7 separate regions of the Homo sapiens genome follow, and all the other regions are linked to region 1. The links are contacts of gene promoters, found by promoter capture Hi-C in blood cells and fetal thymus (Javierre and others, 2016). All regions are on one chromosome and are shown on one strand. Each heading gives the region's core, a stretch centred on a gene start or on the middle of the fragment in contact. The rest is flanking DNA. Distances are from core to core; before and after follow the strand shown. Region 1 holds the start of CPA2 (carboxypeptidase A2). Region 2 overlaps LOC105375508 (a long non-coding RNA gene). Region 3 overlaps COPG2 (coat protein complex I subunit gamma 2). Region 4 has its middle 6.5 kb from the start of KLF14. Region 5 overlaps LOC105375508 (a long non-coding RNA gene). Region 6 has its middle 15 kb from the start of TSGA13. Region 7 overlaps TSGA13 (testis specific 13).

Region 1 (2,700 bases), core at 122-2,621:
TTTAGGAAGAGTTCCCTTGGTGACAGAGTTTCCCCTTCTAGCCTTTCTCCACGTAGGCAGACTTCCTAAGTCACTGCCCCAACTGTTTGTGCAGTGGGGAAGGAATCAATACAATGAGCCATGTACAGGGACCAGAATATGGGTCTTCTGAAACCAAGCTCCATGCAATTTCCTACGAACTCCAGTGGAATACAGAAGTGATGGAATGTGAGCTCTTCGAGGCTCACCTGCCACAAATGGTCTGAAAATTCTTCCATTTAAGTCTCATTATTTTCGGTTAATGCATGGACTCCCAGGAGTCCTCCTTTAAAATGGGAAGGCACTGAGAAAAGTAATACAACAGGGTCATATTTCCTGGTGTGTGTTCTAAAGAATAGTAGTTCTTTGAGTTACTCAGTGAAAGAAAGAAAGAAAGAAAGAAAGAAAGAAAGAAAGAAAGAAAGAAAGAAAGAAAGAAAGAGAAAGAAAGAAAGAAAGAGAAAGAGAAAGAAAGAAAGGGCAAGCTGGGAGCAGTAGGTAGTTTATGATTAAAAAAAAGAGTACATGCTGCAACCTAGATCCCCTCTTATAGATTTATAATGCACACTGATTTAGCCAAGGCTCCTAGAAATCCTATAGTTTGTTTAATCCTCTGATTCCCACATTTATTTGACCAGTGGCTTTTTGGGACCAAACTTATTTGATTGCTTTCTTAGCTCCCTGGACCACTCTTCAAAAAATGCTGCCTGAAACCCTTCATAGAATCATGAAGCAAAGTACTTTGGAGCAAAGATGAGTCCTCCAAAGCCAGGAGAGGAGGAGTTGAGCTGAAATCTATAGCCCTGGCCTTTCTACTTCATGAGGTTCCACCACCTAGGTGCTGAATCTAAAGATCGGGGGTTAGGGCACAAGGGCTAACGTGGATGGTAAAGCCCAGAAGAGCAGGAGGAGGTGGGAGAGTAGCATTGACACCCGCTGAGTTGCCTGGAACAAATGGCCACACAGCTGTATTTTCCCTGATGTCTATCATCCCTACAGTCTGATCACTGGAGGGAAAAATGAGTAAGGACAGAGAGAAATAGGGTTATGTGTGTTCAGTTTTCACTTTTGTCTTTTCCTTTAAATGTCATTCACCTCCTTTTTGATCATCCACTCCTTTTTTTCACACTATTGACTTATCCCCAAATCTAAGAGAACTTCTCTGAAAACACTGAACACTTATACCCATTTACTCTGTAACAATCAAAGCCTCCATCAATCAGGTAAGTAAAATTCAAAGAAGCACCAGAAAGCATAACTTACCCCACAAATGTTTCTAGACAGTAGATATGCCCAAAAAGGGCACCAAAAAACAGGATCAACCTCATGGCCATGGGTTTTCCTGGAGTCCAGAATTCAGAGTCCTTCCTGAACTTTATTTGTAGGGATGGCAGCTGAGGGTGATCTGCTGGCCTTCTGAGAACTCACGTGAATTCCCACATGGGAAAATTCCCACCTGCATGTGAAATTCTCAAGGTTGTAGACATCCACCTGTGTGATATCACCAATGTGTACATGTTCCATTCCTAGGATAAGATAACAAACTTTGATGGAAAGAGAACAAAATTGCTAGAGCATACCAAGGGCAATATAGTTATGATTGAGACCATAAAACGCCACTAGCTACCCTGTGATAGAAGCCAGATTAATAGACCTAGAGGTTAAAGTCTTTTCTGGGTCTCTGACACACACACAAAAAAAAGGCCAGAGCATTTATAGTAATTACTCAGGCATCCTGTCTATCACATTCCATTAGTTTGCTCATTTGTTTATTTTTATAATGTTTACCTTGAAACACTGCAGTCACTCAGTCCACATCTGCTGAGTGTCCCTGTAGATGTGGCCCATTCCAATCCTCACTCTACATTAAAACAAAACAGAAGGCCTTTTAATATTCAATTTTGCACTTTCTCGAAAGTGATCCATCTGCATTTGCACCAAATTGATATCCCTCTTTCTGTGCTTTTTCCCAAAATGAAAATGTCTTTCTGATGACATTTCCTATAACAAGCAACAATGAAGTTGCTTGTTATAAAAAGTGTGAATTAAAAGAAAGTGTTTTCTTTAACCATCAATAATTCTTCCATCCAAAGAAAACCATTTGGCATATGTCTTTCCAAATTTCTTTCTCTGCTTTCGAGTTTTTTTCTTAAACAAAGATTAGACCATATCACGTATACTGTTCTTTAAACAAAGGTGATCTTTTCTTGTTCATAAACATAGATCTACATTAATCTGACTTTGTTCTTCATTGCTTAAGAAGAAAATATAACTGCTTATTTTTAGAAACCATAGTTTATTTAATTTTAGTTGTTCATACACGTTATATTAAGCCTAGAAAGCCTCAACCACAACAAGCAGCAAGGAAATTTTCGTCTGTCCTTTGTGTGTCAAATTTATCAGCACACACTTTAAATCTCTGGGTTTGCATTCTCAAATATCTGCTTTAAGGGGAAAGGTATATACACAGTGTTTCTGATTTTAAGAATGACTGGATTAACTTGGTTTTTCATTCTCCTGGGAGTCAGAGAGAAGACAGAAACCAAAAGGCAGAGGCCATAATTCATCCTCATGTCTCCAGCACCTATCAAATAAACAGTAGTTCAATAAACTGGAAGTATGTACTTGGAGAATCAATAAAAGCTTCCTGGAAAAAATCAAGTTTCAGGCTGGGCTCAGTGG
Region 2 (2,700 bases), core at 156-2,655, 500 kb before region 1:
GCTTGAACTTCATTAAAATTAAAGCTTTTTGCTCTGTGACATACATTGTTAAGAGAATGCAAAGGCAAGCCACACACTGGAAGAAAATATTTGTGAAACACACATTTGATAGAACACATATCCAAAATAGACAAATAATTCTTAAAACTCAGTAATACGTGGCCGGGCACAGTGGCTCACGCCTGTAATCCCAGCACTTTGGGAGGCCGAGGCAGGCAAATCACAAGGTCAGGAGATCGAGACCATCCTGGCTAACACAGTGAAACCCGTTCTCTACTAAAAATACAAAAAAATTAGCCAGGCATGGTGGTGGGCGCCTGTAGTCCTAGCTACTCCGGAGGCTGAGGCAGGAGAATGGCGTGAACCCGGGAGGCGGAGCTCGCAGTGAGCCAAGACTGCAACACTGCACTCCAGCCTGGGTGACAGAACGAGATTCTGTCTCAAAACAAAACAAAACTCAGTAATAAGTAAACAAACAATCTAATTTTAAAACAGGCAAAAGATCAGAACAGATGTCTCACCAGAGAATATATGGCAACAAATAAGCATATGAAAACAAAATAAATTGTCATTAGGTAATTGCAAATTAGGATAACAATGAGATACTGCTACACTATTAAAATGGCTAAAATCCAAAATTCTGAAAATATCAAATGATGATGAGGATGTGGAGCAAGATGTGGAGCAACAGGAACTCCCAGTCATTGCTGACGGGAATGCAAACTGTTACAGCCACTTTGGAAGACAGTTTGGCAATTTCATACAAACGTAAATATAGTTTTACATTACAATACAGCATCTGTGCTCCTAGGTATTTACCCAATTAAGTTGAAAACTTATGTGCACACAGAAACCTGTAAATGAACGTTTATAGCAGCTTTATTCATACTTTCCAGAAACTGGAAGCAACCAAGATTCCCTTAAATAAGTGGATGGATAAACAAACTGTTGTATATCCATACAATGGACTATTATTCAGTGATAAAAGAAAATGAGCTATTAAACCATAAAAAGACATGAAAGAACTTTAAATACATATTGGTAAGTAAAAAAAAGCAGTCTAAAAAAAGCACATTCTATATGATTCCAATCATAGAACATTCTGGAAAAGGCAAACTGTAAGAGACAGTAAAAAAATCAGTCTTTGCTAGGGGCAAGGGAAGAAAAGTTGAATAGATGGAGTACAGGGGATTTTTGGAGTGGTGAAACTATTCTATATGATAATGTAGAGATAGATACATGACACTATGTCAAAAGCCATAGAACTGTACAACACAAAGAGTGAACCCTAATGTAAATTGTGGACTTTAATGAATTATAATGTATCAATACAATTTCATCAATTGTAAAAAATGTACCTTACCAGTGAAAGATGTTAATAATAGAAAAACTGCGTGCCGGGAAAGAAGGGTTATTTAGAAACTCTCTGTATTATCTAATCAATTTTTCTGTAAACCTAAAATTGCTCTAAAAAATAGTCTATTAAATTTTTAAGTCAATTAAAATTATAAATAAAAGATTTTAATGAAGCAGTGAGGTTTATATAAAACATCTTATACTTACAAGAGCCTATTTTAAGCTGCTCACTTAACTTCAGTTATGTAAAAAAACTACACACTTTAGCACCCCACACACATTTTATGTTTTTGAAGTCACCATTTACATCTTTTTAGATTGTGTATCCCTTAACAAACTTTTATAACTATTATTTTAGAGTTTTCCCTTTTAGTCTTCATACTAGAGATATAAGTGATTTATACACTGCCATTATCATATTAGAATATTCTGGATTTGACTATGTACTTACTTTTACTAATGAGTTTCATAATTTCATATGTTTCCATGTTACTTTTCTGTTTAAAGAACTACCTTTAGCATTTAAAAAATGGAAATGGGGTCTTGCTATGTTGCCTAGGCTGGTCTTGAACTCCTGGCCTCAAGCGATCCTCCTGTCTCAGCCTCCCAAAGTGGTGGGATTACAGGCCAGCATTTTTGTTTAAAGCAGATCTAGTGATGATAAACTCCCTCAGTTTTTTTTTTTTTTAATCTGGGAATGTTCTAAAGTCTCTATCATTTCTGAAAGAACAGCCTTGCTCTATATGGCAGGATTTTTTTTTCTTTCGGTACTTTGAATAAATCATTCTACTCTCTCCTGGCCTACAAAGTTTCTTTTGAGAAATCTGCTGATGGTCTTATGGGGGTCCCCTTGTATGAAACAAGGTTCTATTCTCTTTCTGCTTTCAAACTTTTTGTCTTTAACTTTTGAGAGTTTGATTACAATGTGTCTCAGTGAAGATAATTTTATATTTAATCTATTTAGGGTTCTTTGGGATTCAGGATATGGATGGTCATTTCCCTTTCCAGATTTGGAAGGGTTTTTTTCATCATTATTTATTTAAATATGCTTTCTAATCCTTTCTCTTTCTCTGCTCCTCCTTAAATTCCCATAATGTCAACATTGGTTCACTTGAAGAAGTCTTGTAATTCCCATATACATTTTTCACCGTTTCATCATTATTGTTTTTCTTGTTTTTGTTCTCACCAGGTAATTTCAAATGATCTTTGACCTCAGTGATTCTTTCTTGTGTGTGATTGACCTCTTTACAGAATTTTTCAGTTTAGCCAGTGGAGCTGGCTAAAACTGGAGCCAGTTTAGCTCCAGATTTTCTGTTTGGTTCTTTCTTATGGTTTTTATCTCAT
Region 3 (2,700 bases), core at 139-2,638, 390 kb before region 1:
CTGGAGTAGCTGGGACTGTGGGCACGTGCCACCATGCCTGTCTAATTTTTGTATTTTTAGTAGAGACAGGGTTTCATCATGTTGGCCAGGATGGTCTCAATTTCCTGACCTCTTTATCTGCCCGCCTTGGCCTCCCAAAGTACTGGGATTATAGGCCTGAGCCACCACACCCAGCCTGCAGTGTTTATAATTAATACATTTTTAAGATTTACTGGCTTGTTACATGTACTTCTACTTTATTTACTTTCACTACTATATGGAATTCCAATATGTGAATATACAGTAATTCTATTTATCCATTCTCCCATTGGTAGATATAAGTTGTTCCCACATTTTACCTATTACAAATGATACTGCACATAATGTTTATGTACACAGTGAGACTTTTTCTGGAGTAGATACCTACAAGTGGAATTTCTAGATAATGCTTGTTTGTTCGTTTTTTTTTTTTTTGAGACGGAGTCTTGCTCTGTCGCCCAGGCTGGAGTGCAATGGCATGATCTCGGCTCACTGCAACCTTTGCCTCCCAGGTTCACGCCATTCTCCTGCCTCAGCCTCCTGAGTAGCTGGGACTACAGGCACCCGCCACCACACCTGGATAATTTTTTGTATTTTTAGTAGAGACGGGGTTTCACTGTGTTAGCCAGGATGGTCTCGATCTGCTGACCTTGTGATCCGCCCGTCTCAGCCTCCCAAAGTGCTGGGATTGCAGGCGTAAGCTACCGCGCCCGGCCTAAGCATATTTTCATGTACTTATTTGCCATCTGTATATCTGCTTTGATGAAGTGTCTGTTAAAATTTGTTACCACTTAAAAAAATCAGGTTGTCGGCTGGGCCCGGTGGCTCACGCCTGTAATCTCAGCACTTTAGGAGGCTGAGGTGGGCAGATCATGAGGTCAGGAGTTTTAGACCAGCCTGGTCAACATAGTGAAACCCTGTCTCTACTAAAAATACAAAAAATTAGCTGGGTGTGCTGGCAGGCACCTGTAATCCCAGCTACTTGGGAGGCTGAGGTGGGAGAATCACTTGAACCCAGGAGGGGGAGATTGCAGTGAGCTGAGATCGTGCCACTGCACTCCAGCCCAGGTAACAGTGCAAGACTCCGTGTCAAAAAAAAAAAAATCAGGTTGTCATCTTACTGAGTTATAAGTTTCTTTATGTATTCTGGATAGAAGTCCTTTATCAGACAGATGTTTTGTAAATATTTCCTCCCAGTCTGTGGCTTGCCTTTTCATTTACTGGACTATTATTTTTTTTTTAAGTGTAGTTTTACATGCGGTAAAATTCATCCTTTTTAGGGTATCATTCTATGAGCTTTGACAAACACATATAGTGGTGTTATCACCACCACAATTGAGGTTTAGAACATTTCCATCTCCTCAAAAAGTTCCCCCGTGTCTCTTTATCATCTGTTTCTCCTTGCCTCCCTCAGCCCCTGGCAATCTATCTCCTTTCTGTCCTTATAAATTTGCCTTTTCCAGGAAGTCATATGAATGATATCATACTGTATGAAGCCTTTTTTGAGTTTCTTTTCAGTTACTTAGCATAATGCATGTGAGATTCATCCATATTATTGTTTGTATCAGTAGTTTATTTTTATTTTGTCGTCGTATTCCATTGAATGGATGTACCTCTGTTTATCTGTTTGCCAGTTGAAGGATATTTGGCTTGTTACCAGTTTTTGGTGATTATAAACAACATTGCTATAAACATTCATGTTTTGATTTTTGGATGAACATACATTTTTATTTCTTTTGGATAAATGCCTGGGAGTGGGATTGCTGGGCCATATGTAGGTATGGTATGTTTAACTTTGTAAGAAACTACCAACCCATTTTTCTAAAATATTTGTAATCATTCCCGCCATCACTGTATGAGAGCAGCAGTTTGCTCTGCATTCTGGCCAGCACTTTGTATTGTCGTTTTTATTTTTGTTTTTAATTTTAGCTATTCTGATAGGTGTATAATGGTATCCCTTTGTGACTTAAATTTGCATTTTTCCAATGACTGATGATCTCAAACATCTTTTCATTTGTATTTTTACCTTCCGTATATCTTCTGTTGGTGAAGGATTTGTTAATATCTTTTGCCCATTAAAAAAATTGGATTGTTTATTTTCTTATTATTGAGTTTTAAGAGGTCTTTATGCATTCTGGATACAAATCCTTTATCAGATATGTTTCACAATTATTGTCTCTCAGTATATGGCTTATGTTTTTATTTTGTTAAAGTCTTTCAAAGGGCAGAAGTTTTAAATTTTGATGAAGTCCAGTTTATCAAATTTTTTTCTGTTACAGGTGATGCTTTTTATGTCATATCATAGAAATCTTTCCTTAACCGAAGGGGACAACGATTTTCTCCTGTGCTTTTTTTCTGGGTGTTTGTAGTTTTATATCAATTACCTTATGATCCATTTCATATTGATTTTTGTATATGGTATAAAGTAATGGTTGGTTTCTTTTCACCTCTTTTCTCTTCCTCCATCCACTGCCTCTTCCTTTTCTTCCTTCTTCATTTTCTCAACACATGGTTCTGGAACAATTGAATATCCATATGGAAGGAGAAAGGGGAGGAGGGGGAGGAGATGATGAAGATGATTGAGTTACATTGGCACGTTGGCACATTATTTTGTCTCATTGACCTATATGTCTGTTCTTACTTTAGCTCTATGCTGTCTTGATTAACTATAGGTTTAAAATC
Region 4 (2,700 bases), core at 68-2,567, 460 kb before region 1:
GCAAAAGTGAGCTGTACAGAACACTGTGGCTGATTTTGATTCACATAGATGTAACTGAGACAGGATCACTGCAGAAAGGGAAGGCGCTATTCAATAGATCAATTTGTGCTGCCTTTATGCTCAGCCAGAATTGCAGTTGAGGATTCTAAGGTCAGTGGCATAAGTTCCATGTATATGTAAGAGCACAGGTTAGGGACATTCTAGCTCTTAAATTATTCTGGGAAGTATCAGGTGGTATCAGATCAGTTTCCCCATTATCTGGATTTGAAATGCACCCTTTAATAGGGCTAAGGAGAGGCCAATGGGAGGCTCCAAATCCTTTAATTCATATGGGATATCCAGAATCACCTTCTATTTATATTCCAAGTTGGTGCCAGATGTGTTTACTATATAAGCCCTGACAGTGGAATTTCAAGGCCTCAGCTGAATTTCTTGTGTGTTCAACCACAGAGAAATGGTGGATTTTATCACAAATACATAAAGAGGAATGGAAGTTTTTGTTATATAGGGGTTTGAGGAAGAGAAAAGCATTGTATACCATAATCCCAAAGGCAGGAAAAGTATTAAAAAGGCTTTTGCCTGAATCCTTCTCTCCCTAGGAATCAGGGTCTATTCAGGAAATAAAATGGGAGCCATATTTGTTTCAAATATATATATTTAAATCTTGAAATCAAAATAGAAGCAGTACAAGGGTGAAAACTGAAGAAAGGATGATGGTTTGATTAAGCTGAAAGAAGAGAAGGATTTATTTAGAAGAAAGGTTGTGTTTTCAGAGGACAGTATTGATGATGTGAAAAGAAAAATAAGAAAGACCAGTAGCCAACAATCTTAAACATGGAATTATAAAGGAGAGTGGCATTTTAATTATTAGTAGGTTAGAGGAGGTGATTAGAACCCTAAGAGATCTAACAAAAGAATGGACGCAAGCTTTACATGAATGTCTGTCTTCACTCAGGATCTCAGGCCCAAGAAAATATTGAGAGATACCTGTTTAAATTTGCAGAGAAAGCACTGGGAAATCATCCCTATCACTGAGATAGGTATAGTAGATGATTACAGAAAATGTAAACAATACTTCCAAGTATTTTTAGCTTAGTTTCAGTGATATTACCATTGTCAGTGGGAATATAGATGGTTGCTTGGAGAACGTACAGAAAGAAGTAAGTCTTTAGAAAGTGTGGGAAGATGAGACACATGAAATATATCAAAGTTATTGATCAAATTAATAGAAATTAGGAAGCAAAAAGGCATAACCGTCTCAATAGTTTCATTGTTAAAAATCAACAATGATTTGTGATTTAATTTAAAAATACCTTAGTAAACTAGTAACAAAAGATAATTTCTTAAGTTGATAAAAGGTATCTGCCAAAAGCCTACTATAAAAATCAAACTTAAATGTTGAAAGATTGCAAGCATTCCTATCGGCCACATGGTAAGATACAAAGAAAGTCTAGACAAACTTCAGGCAGGTAATCACATAAAAATACAACAAAAATATCATTAAAAATCCATAAATTGAGAAATCCGTAAAAGGAAGCCTCTACGTAAGTCAGACAGAAGGGGAAATTGCAGAAATTTGGAGCTGAATGAAAACAAAAAGCACTATATAGCAAGCAAAAAACACTAGGGGAGGAAATGTAATTTATAGCCTTAAATATTTTATTCAAAAAAGAGAAAGGTTGAATGAAGGTGAATGAACTAAGCTTTCAACTCCAGAAGAAAAGGAAAACATTTAAATATTACAATGGTTGTGGCCTCCAAAACAGCATACTACATAAATAGATATACACTATATGTGTGGTTTAAGATTTCATAGGGATGTGGGGAACGGGGAGTGATTAGGAAAAAAAAATCTGAAACCAATTCTGGAGGGGTGATAATAAAAAAAGAATGAAAAATATTATCATTAATAAAGCAGAAATTAATGAAACAAGAAAAAATAGGTAGCTTTGAGCAAAACTCTTTTAAAAGGTGAATAACAGTAGGTTTCTTTGGCAAATATAAATTTCTTAAAAAGAGAAGTCAGGGTCGGGTGCAGTGGCTCACGCCTGTAATTCCAAAACTTTGGAGGCCAAGGTGGGAGGGTCATTTGAGCCCAGGAGTTCAAGAAGCATGGCAAAGCCCTGTCTCTACCAAAGAAAAAAAAAAAAAAAAAAAAATTAGCTGAGTGCGTGGTATGCACATGTAGTCCCAGCTACTCAGGAGGCTGAAGCTGAAGAATTGCTTGAGCCGGGGAGGCCGAGGCTGCACTGTGATTGTGTCACTGCACTTCAGCCTGGGCAACAGAGTGAGGCCCTGTCTCAAAAATAAAATAAAATAAAATAGAAGGCACAAAAAGTTATCAGGAATAAAACAGGACATAAAATCATAACACAGATTTTTTAAATTAGAATAATACAAACAACTTTATATCAAGAATTGAAAACTATATGGATAATTTTATAAGAAAAATATAAAATTTCAAAATAGTTTAAGAAGATGTAGAAAATCTGAAATTGAAGTGGTAGTCAAACTTGTATCTCCCAAAAGGCACTAGGTCTCAGCAGTTGCATTGGCAAATTTTCTAAGCCTTCAAGAAAAAGATAATTTCTATTTTTATAAAGCACTCTAAAGCATAGAAAAGGATAGAAAATTAACTAATTTCTTTTATGTTGTCAAGCTAACCTTGATACCAAAACAAGGCAAGTTAAAAGACAAGAA
Region 5 (2,700 bases), core at 164-2,663, 480 kb before region 1:
AGTCATCAGATCTGTAAGTCTTTTCCTTCACAGCGTCTGAGTTTTCACACCTTCCTATCCTACTGTGCAATTACCAAGATAGTCTACATTTTTTCACAGTAATTTTTAAATTCACATTTTGAAATTCATAAACAGCAAAATTCTCTCTTTGTGTACCACTCTATGAGTTTTTAACAAATTTATACAGTCATGTAAGCACCCCCTCAAACAAGATACTGAACAGTTCTGTAACCCTCCAAAATCATTCCTGCCCTTCCTCCCACAGCCAGCCTGTGGCAACGACGGATCTGTTTTTAAGGGATTCCTCATACAAATGGAACCATAAAGTAGGTAGCCTTTATCTGACTTTTTCTCCTGGCATAATGCAGATGAAGTCCATCCACACTGCTGTGTGTCTCACAGTCTGCCCCTTTTCATTGCTGATTATCATTCCATTGCATGAAGTGCCAGTGCGTTGGTCCGTTCACCAGCAGAACAACATCTGGGTTGTTTCTGGTTTTTGATTTTGGGCAATTATGAATAAAACCATCATGAACAGTCACATAAAGGTTTCTGGGTGAATATAAGTTTTCAGCTCTCTTGGCTAACTACCTAGGAGAGGGATTACTGGATCATGTGGTAAATGTGTGTTTAACTTTATAAGCTGGCCTACACATTAGAAATAGAACACCACATACAAATGGCGGAAGCCAGTGGCTAGAGATAAGACCTTGGAGGCATCTCTCCCGTCTAGCACACTGGGCTTTAGGGCTCCAGAGTTTGAGAGTTCCAGATGCTCTGTATTGTCTGGTTTAAAAAGAACATTTAAAAAATTCTAAAAGGGCCGGGTGCGGTGGCTCACGCTGGTAATCCCAGCACTTTGGGAGGCTGAGGCGGGCAGATCACAAGGTCAGGAGTTCGAGACCAGCCTGGCCAATATGGTGAGACCCCCGTCTCTACTAAAAATACAAAAATTAGCCGGGTGTGGTGGTGCATGACTGTAGTCCCAGCTACTCGGGAAGCTGAGGCAGAAGAATTGCTTGAACCCAGGAGGCGGAGGCTACAGTGAGCTGAAATCATGCCACTGCACTCCAGCCTAGGCGACGGAGCGACACTGTCTCAAAAAAACAAAACAAAACAAAAAACCTAAAAGGTGTATAGCGGTGCCTCACTGTGGTTTCAATCTGCATTTCCCTAACTGTTAATAGTGAGCATCTTTTTGTATACTTATTTGCCAGCCCCACATCTTCTTGAGTAAAGTGTTCAAATCTTTTGTCCATTTTAAAAATTGAGTTATTTATTGTTTAATGTTGAACTTTGAAAGTTCTTTATATTTTTTCAATACAAATTCTTTTTCAGGTACATAATTTGCAAATATTTCTTCCAGTCTGTTGCTTGTCTTCTAACTATCTTAGGTGTCTTGCAGAGAAACTTTTAATTTTGATGAAGTCCAATTTCTTTTTTTCTGTTATAGCTTATGCTTTTGATATCAAAATCTAAGAAATCTTGGCCTAACTCTAGAACACAAATCTTTCTTCTTTTTTTTTCCATGGAAGTTTTATAGTTTTGGATTTTTATATTTAGGTCTAAAATCCATTTTGATTATAATTTTGTAGAAGATGGAAGGTATGAATTGAAATTCAGGTTTTATGAACAAATATCCAACTGTTCAAGAACAATCTGCTGAAAAGACTATTCTTTCTCCGTTGAACTGTGTTTGCACCTTTGTCAAAAATCAGTTGGCTAGTTTGATCTATTTCTGAAATCCTCCCTCTGCTCCGTTAATATTTGTGTCCATTTTCCCACCAGTACCACACTGTCCTAATCACTGTAGTTTTATAATAGCTCTTAAAATCAAATAGTATGCATTTCCTAACAACCTATTTTCAAAAGTTTTTTTCCAAAATTGTTTTGATTATTTTAGTTTGTCTTTCCATGTCAATTTAAAATATAATATCTACAAAAGTCACACTCCTACTTGGATTTTGATTACGGCCATTCGAATCTATATGTCAATTTGGGGAGAAATGACATCTACACAGTACTGAGTCTTCCAATCCATGGAAGACTTGCCATTTATTTAGGTATATGCTGTCTTTCATTGGTCTTTTGTAGTTTTAAGTACACAGATAACGAAAATTTTGTTAACTATATATTAAATATTTATCTTTTTGGTGCTAAATGGAACTGGTGTGTGTGGGAAATAATGCTGTTTTTTAATTTTGATTTTTATGTATTCATTGTTAGTATACAGACCTTGTATTTTGAAAACTTACTAAAATGACTTCTTAGTTCTATGAACTTTTGGATAGATGCCTTGGGATTTTCTTAATAGACAATAATATCTGAGAATTGAAGTGAGAGAGTGAACATCCTTAGCTTATTTCCAATCTTAGGTGAAAATCATCCCATTTTTCACTGTTAAGTACAATGTAGGTTTTTCTGTAGATGTCATTTATAAAATTAAGGACATTCCTTTCTACTCCTAATTTTCTAAGAGTTTTTTAATCATGAAGGAATCTTTAATTTTGTTAAATATTTACTCTACATCTATTGAGATTATTCCAGTGCTTTAAATTTGATTTTTATGCTTACCTCCCTAATCCACCTAGAGTTTATTTTTTATACTTGAGAGTGGTTTTTTTTTTTTTTTTTTTTTAATTTTTGTTTTGAGACGGAGTCTTGCTCTGCCGCCCAGGCTGGAGTGCAGTGGCACAATCT
Region 6 (2,700 bases), core at 18-2,517, 430 kb before region 1:
AAATGCTCATCATCACTGGCCATCAGAGAAATGCAAATCAAAACCACTATGAGATATCATCTCACACCAGTTAGAATGGCAATCATTAAAAAGTCAGGAAACAACAGGTGCTGGAGAGGATGCGGAGAAATAGGAACACTTTTACACTGTTGGTGGGACTGTAAACTAGTTCAACCATTGTGGAAGTCAGTGTGGCGATTCCTCAGGGATCTAGAACTAGAAATACCATTTGACCCAGCCATCCCATTACTGGGTATATACCCAAATGAGTATAAATCATGCTGCTATAAAGACACATGCACACGTATGTTTATTGCGGCACTATTCACAATAGCAAAGACTTGGAACCAACCCAAATGTCCAACAATGATAGACTGGATTAAGAAAATGTGGCACATATACACCATGGAATACTATGCAGCCATAAAAAATGATGAGTTCATATCCTTTGTAGGGACATGGATGAAATTGGAAACCATCATTCTCAGTAAACTATCGCAAGAACAAAAAACCAAACACCGCATATTCTCACTCATAGCTGGGAATTGAACAATGAGATCACATGGACACAGGAAGGGGAATATCACACTCTGGGGACTGTGGTGGGGTCGGGGGAGGGGGGAGGGATAGCATTGGGAGATATACCTAATGCTAGATGACACATTAGTGGGTGCAGCGCACCAGCATGGCACATGTATACATATGTAACTAACCTGCACAATGTGCACATGTACCCTAAAACTTAGAGTATAATAAAAAAAAAAAAAAAGAAGTTTACGGATAAAAGAAAAAAAAAATAAAGTTTAAATAAAGTTTATAAATTAAAAAAAAAAAAAAAGAAAACACAACCATAAGTCAAAACATTAATTAACCTATTTACATCAAAAAAGCTTTCCAACACCGAGGTAATACTTCACACCCACTGGGATGACTACAAGTGAAAAACAAAAACAAAAACAACAACAACAACAACAACAACAAAAAACCACCAGAAAATAAATGTTTGCAAGGATGTGGAGAAATTGGAACCTCATACATTGCTAGTGGGAATGTAAAATGGTTAGCCATATGATCTAGCATTTACACTCCTAGGTAAATGCTAGCACTATATGCTGCAAATAATAAAAACAGGCACTCAAATAAGCACATGTACACACATGTTCATAACAGCACTATTGATAATAGTCAAAAGGTGGAAACAGCCCAAATGTCTATCAGTGGAAGAGTGGATAAACAAATTGCAGTATATTCATAAGCATATTTTTCAGTGATTAAAAAAAAGGATGAAGTACCGTACCTAATACATGCTATAACATGGATGAACCTCTAAAACATTAGCTAAGTGAAAGAAGCCAGACACCAAAGATCACATATTGTATGATTCCATTTGTATGAAATATCCAGAATAGATAAATTCATAAAGATAGAACACAGATTGGTGGCTGCCAGGTACTGGCAGGTTAGAGAGAAAGAGGAGAAACTGTTTAATGTGCAAAAGGTTTTACTTTAGAGTGAAGAAAATGTTTCAAAACTAGATAGATGCGGTGGTTGCACAATGCTGCAAATGAACTAAATGTCACTGAATTTAAAATAGTTAATTTAAAAAATCTTGGTGGAGGCACACACACACACACAAAAGCTTTCTATCCAGGGAAAAAATTAATGGACAGCTAATAGAATTAAAGAAAATTATTCATACCATTTAAAGCTGACTATGGGTTGATATCTAGAATATATAACAAAATCTTGCAAATTCACAAGAAAATGTCAGCAACTTCATTAAAATAATAGGCAAAAGATATGAATCAGCATTTAAATAAGGAACCAAAAGTTGATAAATATGAAGAAATGTTTAAACTCATTAATAATCAAAGAAATGCAAATTGAAACAACAGTGAAATAGGGAAGAATTAGAAAGTTGAATGATACTAAGTGTGGATGGGGCAATGTGACTTAGCTCATGTTCGCCAAAAGCCAATCTTGAGACATAGATTTATTTTCAAATAACTTATTAAGAAAGTCATCCCAGCATAAACTGGTAAGGAAGTTGGGGATGAAGGACAGAAAAATAGAAGAAACTAAAGAAAGATGTACTGTATTTCAGACAGAGTCCTAGCCTTAATCTGATCCTATAAGGGAGTTCTGGAGAGGAAATTATGCCTCAGCCTGAAAGAGTCTAAGGCAAAGGAGCTGGGCTTTCATCCTTATACTGCAGTGGTCCATTGACTACAGATGTACTGGGGGTACCTAATCTCCCAGACACTTCCTATTCTCTGGGATAAGTGGCTCCAGTAGCCCAAGGGCAATCCTTCAAAGCAGATATTTAAAAGAGGCAGCCATTGTGGAGTGCAATTTGGCATTTCTTTCTTTCTTTCTTTTTGAGACAAAGTCTCACTCTGTCGCCCAGGCTGGAGTACAGTGGCACTCTGTTGGTTCACTGCAACCTCCGCCTCCCGGGTTCAAGCAATTCTCCTGCCTCAGCCTTACGAGTAGCTGGGACTACAGGTGCGAGCCACCACACCCGGCTAATTTTTGTATTTTTAGTAGAGATGGGGTTTTGCCATGTTGGTCAGGTTGGTCTCCAACTCCATGTTGGTCAGGTTGGTCTCCAACTCCTGACCTCAGGTGATCTGCCAGCCTTGGCCTCCCAAAGTGCTGAGATTACAGGCAGCAATTTGACATTTCTCAGACAAATTATAT
Region 7 (2,700 bases), core at 130-2,629, 410 kb before region 1:
AAGCTAAAAACCAGAATATAAAGATGATTACAGGACAGTTTCTGTCTTAAAGGAACTTGGAATCTAATAGGAGAAAGATCAATAAATGAGGTATGTTAAAGTAATAGAAGAATATACAAAATACAGAAGTAATGTAGAATACAGTATTTCTGTTGGGAAAAAGGGAGTGAGTAGGGAAGTGACCCATGACAAAAGAACAGGAAAATATCAAATCAGAGGAAAGAGCAAAAGCATGAAGACATGGGAAAATGAGGTGCATTCAGGAAGATGTAAGAGAGTAAATGGCAGGGCCAGGCGCAGTGGCTCACGCCTGTAATCCCAGCACTTTGGGAGGCTGAGGCGGGCAGATCACTTGAGATAAGGAGTTTGACACCAGCTTGGCCAACATGGTGAAACCCCATCTCTCCTAAAAATACAAAAATTAGCCATGCGTGGTGCTGCATGCCTGTAGTCCCAGCTACTCAGGAGGCTGAGGGAGGAGAATCGCTTGAACCTGGGAGGTGGAGGTTGCAGTGAGCCAAGATAGCGCTACTGCATTCCAGCATGGGCGACAGGGCGAGACTCTATCTCAAAAAAAAAAAGAAAAAGCAAATAGAGTAAATGGCAGGAGACAAAAGGATGTAATCAAATTTGCATTTTAGGAAGACTGTTTTGGAGGTTGAAGAAAGGTGCATTAGTAGTTGTGGAAGAGACAAAACCCAGAAAGATGAGTTATAATGTTACTAAAATAGTCAAGGTGAGAGATACTGAAGACCTGAACTAAATCATTAGCAGAGGAAGTAGAGAAAATTTAATTATGAGATATTTAAGAATCAAAATCTGGCCGGGAGCAGTGGCTCACGCCTGTAATCCCAGCACTTTGGGAGGCCAAGGCAGGTGGATCACGAGGTCAGGAGATTGAGACCATCCTGGCTAACCCAGTGAAACCCCGTCTCTACTAAAAATACAAAAAATTAGCCGGGCGTGGTAGCGGGCGCCTGTACTCCCAGCTACTCCGGAGGCTGAGGCAGGAAAATGGAGTGAACGTGGGAGGCGGAGCTCGCAGTGAGCCGAGATCGCACCACTGCACTCCAGCCTGGGCGACAGAGGGAGACTCAGTCTCAAAAAAAAAAAAAAGAATCAAAATCTAAAAAAGGTCATGATAGCCTCAAGAGCGGGTCTAATCTAACAAGAACAAATTAAATAAATGAGTTAAGTGAAAGTGCAAACAAAGGATTCTAGTAGAAATTTTATGCTGGGCATGGGATTACCCAAGTGAGACCCTTATAATAAAATGTGGTGAATTTGGAGTTAGTGTTTCCATAGTTCCTAGATGGATGACAGTGAGAGATTCTCCTTCAAGTGGAAGATAAAATGCTAATATCCAATGGCATGTACTAACAAAGGAGTTAATGAATTTACCGCATGTGGTCTCTTGGGTCTCAGAATTTGTGCCCTTTGAAGGTAAGCTCACTGGTAGTTTCTCATGGCAGTGGGTGGACCATACATTGAGAAAGGGATAAATGCCAGGCCAGGATTGCCCTGCTTAATGCGCAGAAGGAAATACAAAGCTATCATGTAAACTGGGTGTGGGAAGAGCTTTCTTCCAACAGCCTGCACACTTTGTGAACCCTCCAGTTCAGGTGCAGAATCTAATCATATTGATGAGCAAATTGTGGTACCAGTTAAATTGTACTAATGGATAAAGTTAAGGCTCAAAGACTGGCACCATGGTAATTTTATGGGGCTATCAGACTGGAACAAGCCCAAGAAGATTGAAACGTGTGATATCTACAATGCCTCTTTAATATTCATGCAGCATCCTTTCCTTCCCTTGCTGGACAAATGTGATAATCTTTTGTAAACCTAGAATCATTTACAAGAAAAGCATTCTTTGTTATGCCCAGGCATGCATCCAAAAAGACTGTGAGTTCTAGTAGGCAAGTTATGGAATGTACTAGATATATCTATTACAGTGATTGTCATACTAACAGCCCCTTCTAAGTGAAACTGACCCTACCACAGTCTCCTGAGTAAGGGAATATCCTGAGAAGTTCTATTTTGTACAACAGGACCGTGTCCCCACTCCTAGTTGAGACCAGAGGAGGATATCAGACCCAACAAAGCAAAATTCATAGGCTGGGTAGTGACCTGTGATGTGGATTGGTACCCTAAAACCAAAACAAACAAAAAACAAATCAAAACAAAAACCAACCAACCTACCAACATCCAGAATCCCTGAGCTAATCAGATTCTTGTTTCCAGGTCTCTGAATTGAGAAATGAAAAGATTGAAGCAGTAGGAATGAAAGCTAAAAGGACACATAAGAGTAAGGCTAGAAGACTCAAACCGGCCTGGCGCAGTGGCTCACGCCTGTAAGCCCAGCACTTTGGGAGGCCGAGGCAGGCAGATCACGAGGTCAGGAGATTGAGACCATCCTGGCTAACGTGGTGAAACCCTGTCTCTACTAAAAATACAAAAAATTAGCCAGGCGTGGTGGCACATGCCTGTAGTCCTAGCTACTCCGGAGGCTAACACAGGAGAATTGCTTGAACTTGGGAGGTGGAGGTTGCAGTGAGTGGAGACTGTGCCACTGCAGTCCAGCCCAGGCAACAGAGTGAGATTCCATCCCCTCCCCACCCCACCCCCCCCAAAAAAAGACTCAAACCATGAGGAAGAAAGGTAGTGAAGAGGCCATGAAGTCGAGTATGGGAAGGCTGA

What was found. Contacts are between HindIII fragments. The CHiCAGO score rates a contact against its expected background, and 5 or more counts as called.
Region 2: a fragment that was not itself captured here is called in contact with the fragment with the promoter of CPA2 in region 1 in 6 of 17 cell types (M1 macrophages, naive CD4 T cells, M0 macrophages and 3 more); the score reaches 8.3 in M1 macrophages.
Region 3: a contact is called between a fragment that was not itself captured here and the fragment with the promoter of CPA2 in region 1, in 4 of 17 cell types (endothelial precursors, M2 macrophages, M0 macrophages and 1 more). The highest score is 6.7, in endothelial precursors.
Region 4: a contact is called between a fragment that was not itself captured here and the fragment with the promoter of CPA2 in region 1, in 11 of 17 cell types (endothelial precursors, erythroblasts, M1 macrophages and 8 more). The highest score is 14.6, in endothelial precursors.
Region 5: a fragment that was not itself captured here is called in contact with the fragment with the promoter of CPA2 in region 1 in 10 of 17 cell types (endothelial precursors, M2 macrophages, M1 macrophages and 7 more); the score reaches 9.6 in endothelial precursors.
Region 6: a contact is called between a fragment that was not itself captured here and the fragment with the promoter of CPA2 in region 1, in 9 of 17 cell types (endothelial precursors, M1 macrophages, erythroblasts and 6 more). The highest score is 17.0, in endothelial precursors.
Region 7: a fragment that was not itself captured here is called in contact with the fragment with the promoter of CPA2 in region 1 in 7 of 17 cell types (endothelial precursors, M1 macrophages, M2 macrophages and 4 more); the score reaches 14.6 in endothelial precursors.

The regions. Positions count from the first base shown.
Region 1 is chr7:130,265,534-130,268,233 of GRCh38, reverse strand. It overlaps CPA2 (carboxypeptidase A2), which reads right to left and starts at 1,371. Exons shown (of 11, transcript NM_001869.3): 1 at 1,282-1,371. The coding sequence starts at 1,352. The HindIII fragment of the contact is 5,023 bases long and covers 1-2,663 here.
Region 2 is chr7:130,768,511-130,771,210 of GRCh38, reverse strand. The region is part of intron 3 of LOC105375508 (a long non-coding RNA gene); the gene reads right to left. Among named protein-coding and RNA genes, the nearest start is that of KLF14, 36 kb to the right of the region's middle. The HindIII fragment of the contact is 2,758 bases long and covers 27-2,700 here.
Region 3 is chr7:130,657,108-130,659,807 of GRCh38, reverse strand. All of the region lies in intron 4 of COPG2 (coat protein complex I subunit gamma 2), which reads left to right. Among named protein-coding and RNA genes, the nearest start is that of COPG2, 10 kb to the left of the region's middle. The HindIII fragment of the contact is 4,185 bases long and covers 1-2,700 here.
Region 4 is chr7:130,726,332-130,729,031 of GRCh38, reverse strand. No RefSeq gene overlaps it. Among named protein-coding and RNA genes, the nearest start is that of KLF14, 6.5 kb to the left of the region's middle. The HindIII fragment of the contact is 776 bases long and covers 930-1,705 here.
Region 5 is chr7:130,748,095-130,750,794 of GRCh38, reverse strand. The region is part of intron 3 of LOC105375508 (a long non-coding RNA gene); the gene reads right to left. Among named protein-coding and RNA genes, the nearest start is that of KLF14, 15 kb to the right of the region's middle. The HindIII fragment of the contact is 3,465 bases long and covers 1-2,700 here.
Region 6 is chr7:130,700,064-130,702,763 of GRCh38, reverse strand. No RefSeq gene overlaps it. Among named protein-coding and RNA genes, the nearest start is that of TSGA13, 15 kb to the right of the region's middle. The HindIII fragment of the contact is 749 bases long and covers 893-1,641 here.
Region 7 is chr7:130,675,313-130,678,012 of GRCh38, reverse strand. All of the region lies in intron 5 of TSGA13 (testis specific 13), which reads left to right. Among named protein-coding and RNA genes, the nearest start is that of COPG2, 7.9 kb to the right of the region's middle. RefSeq lists an enhancer at 1,143-1,699. The HindIII fragment of the contact is 4,053 bases long and covers 1-2,700 here.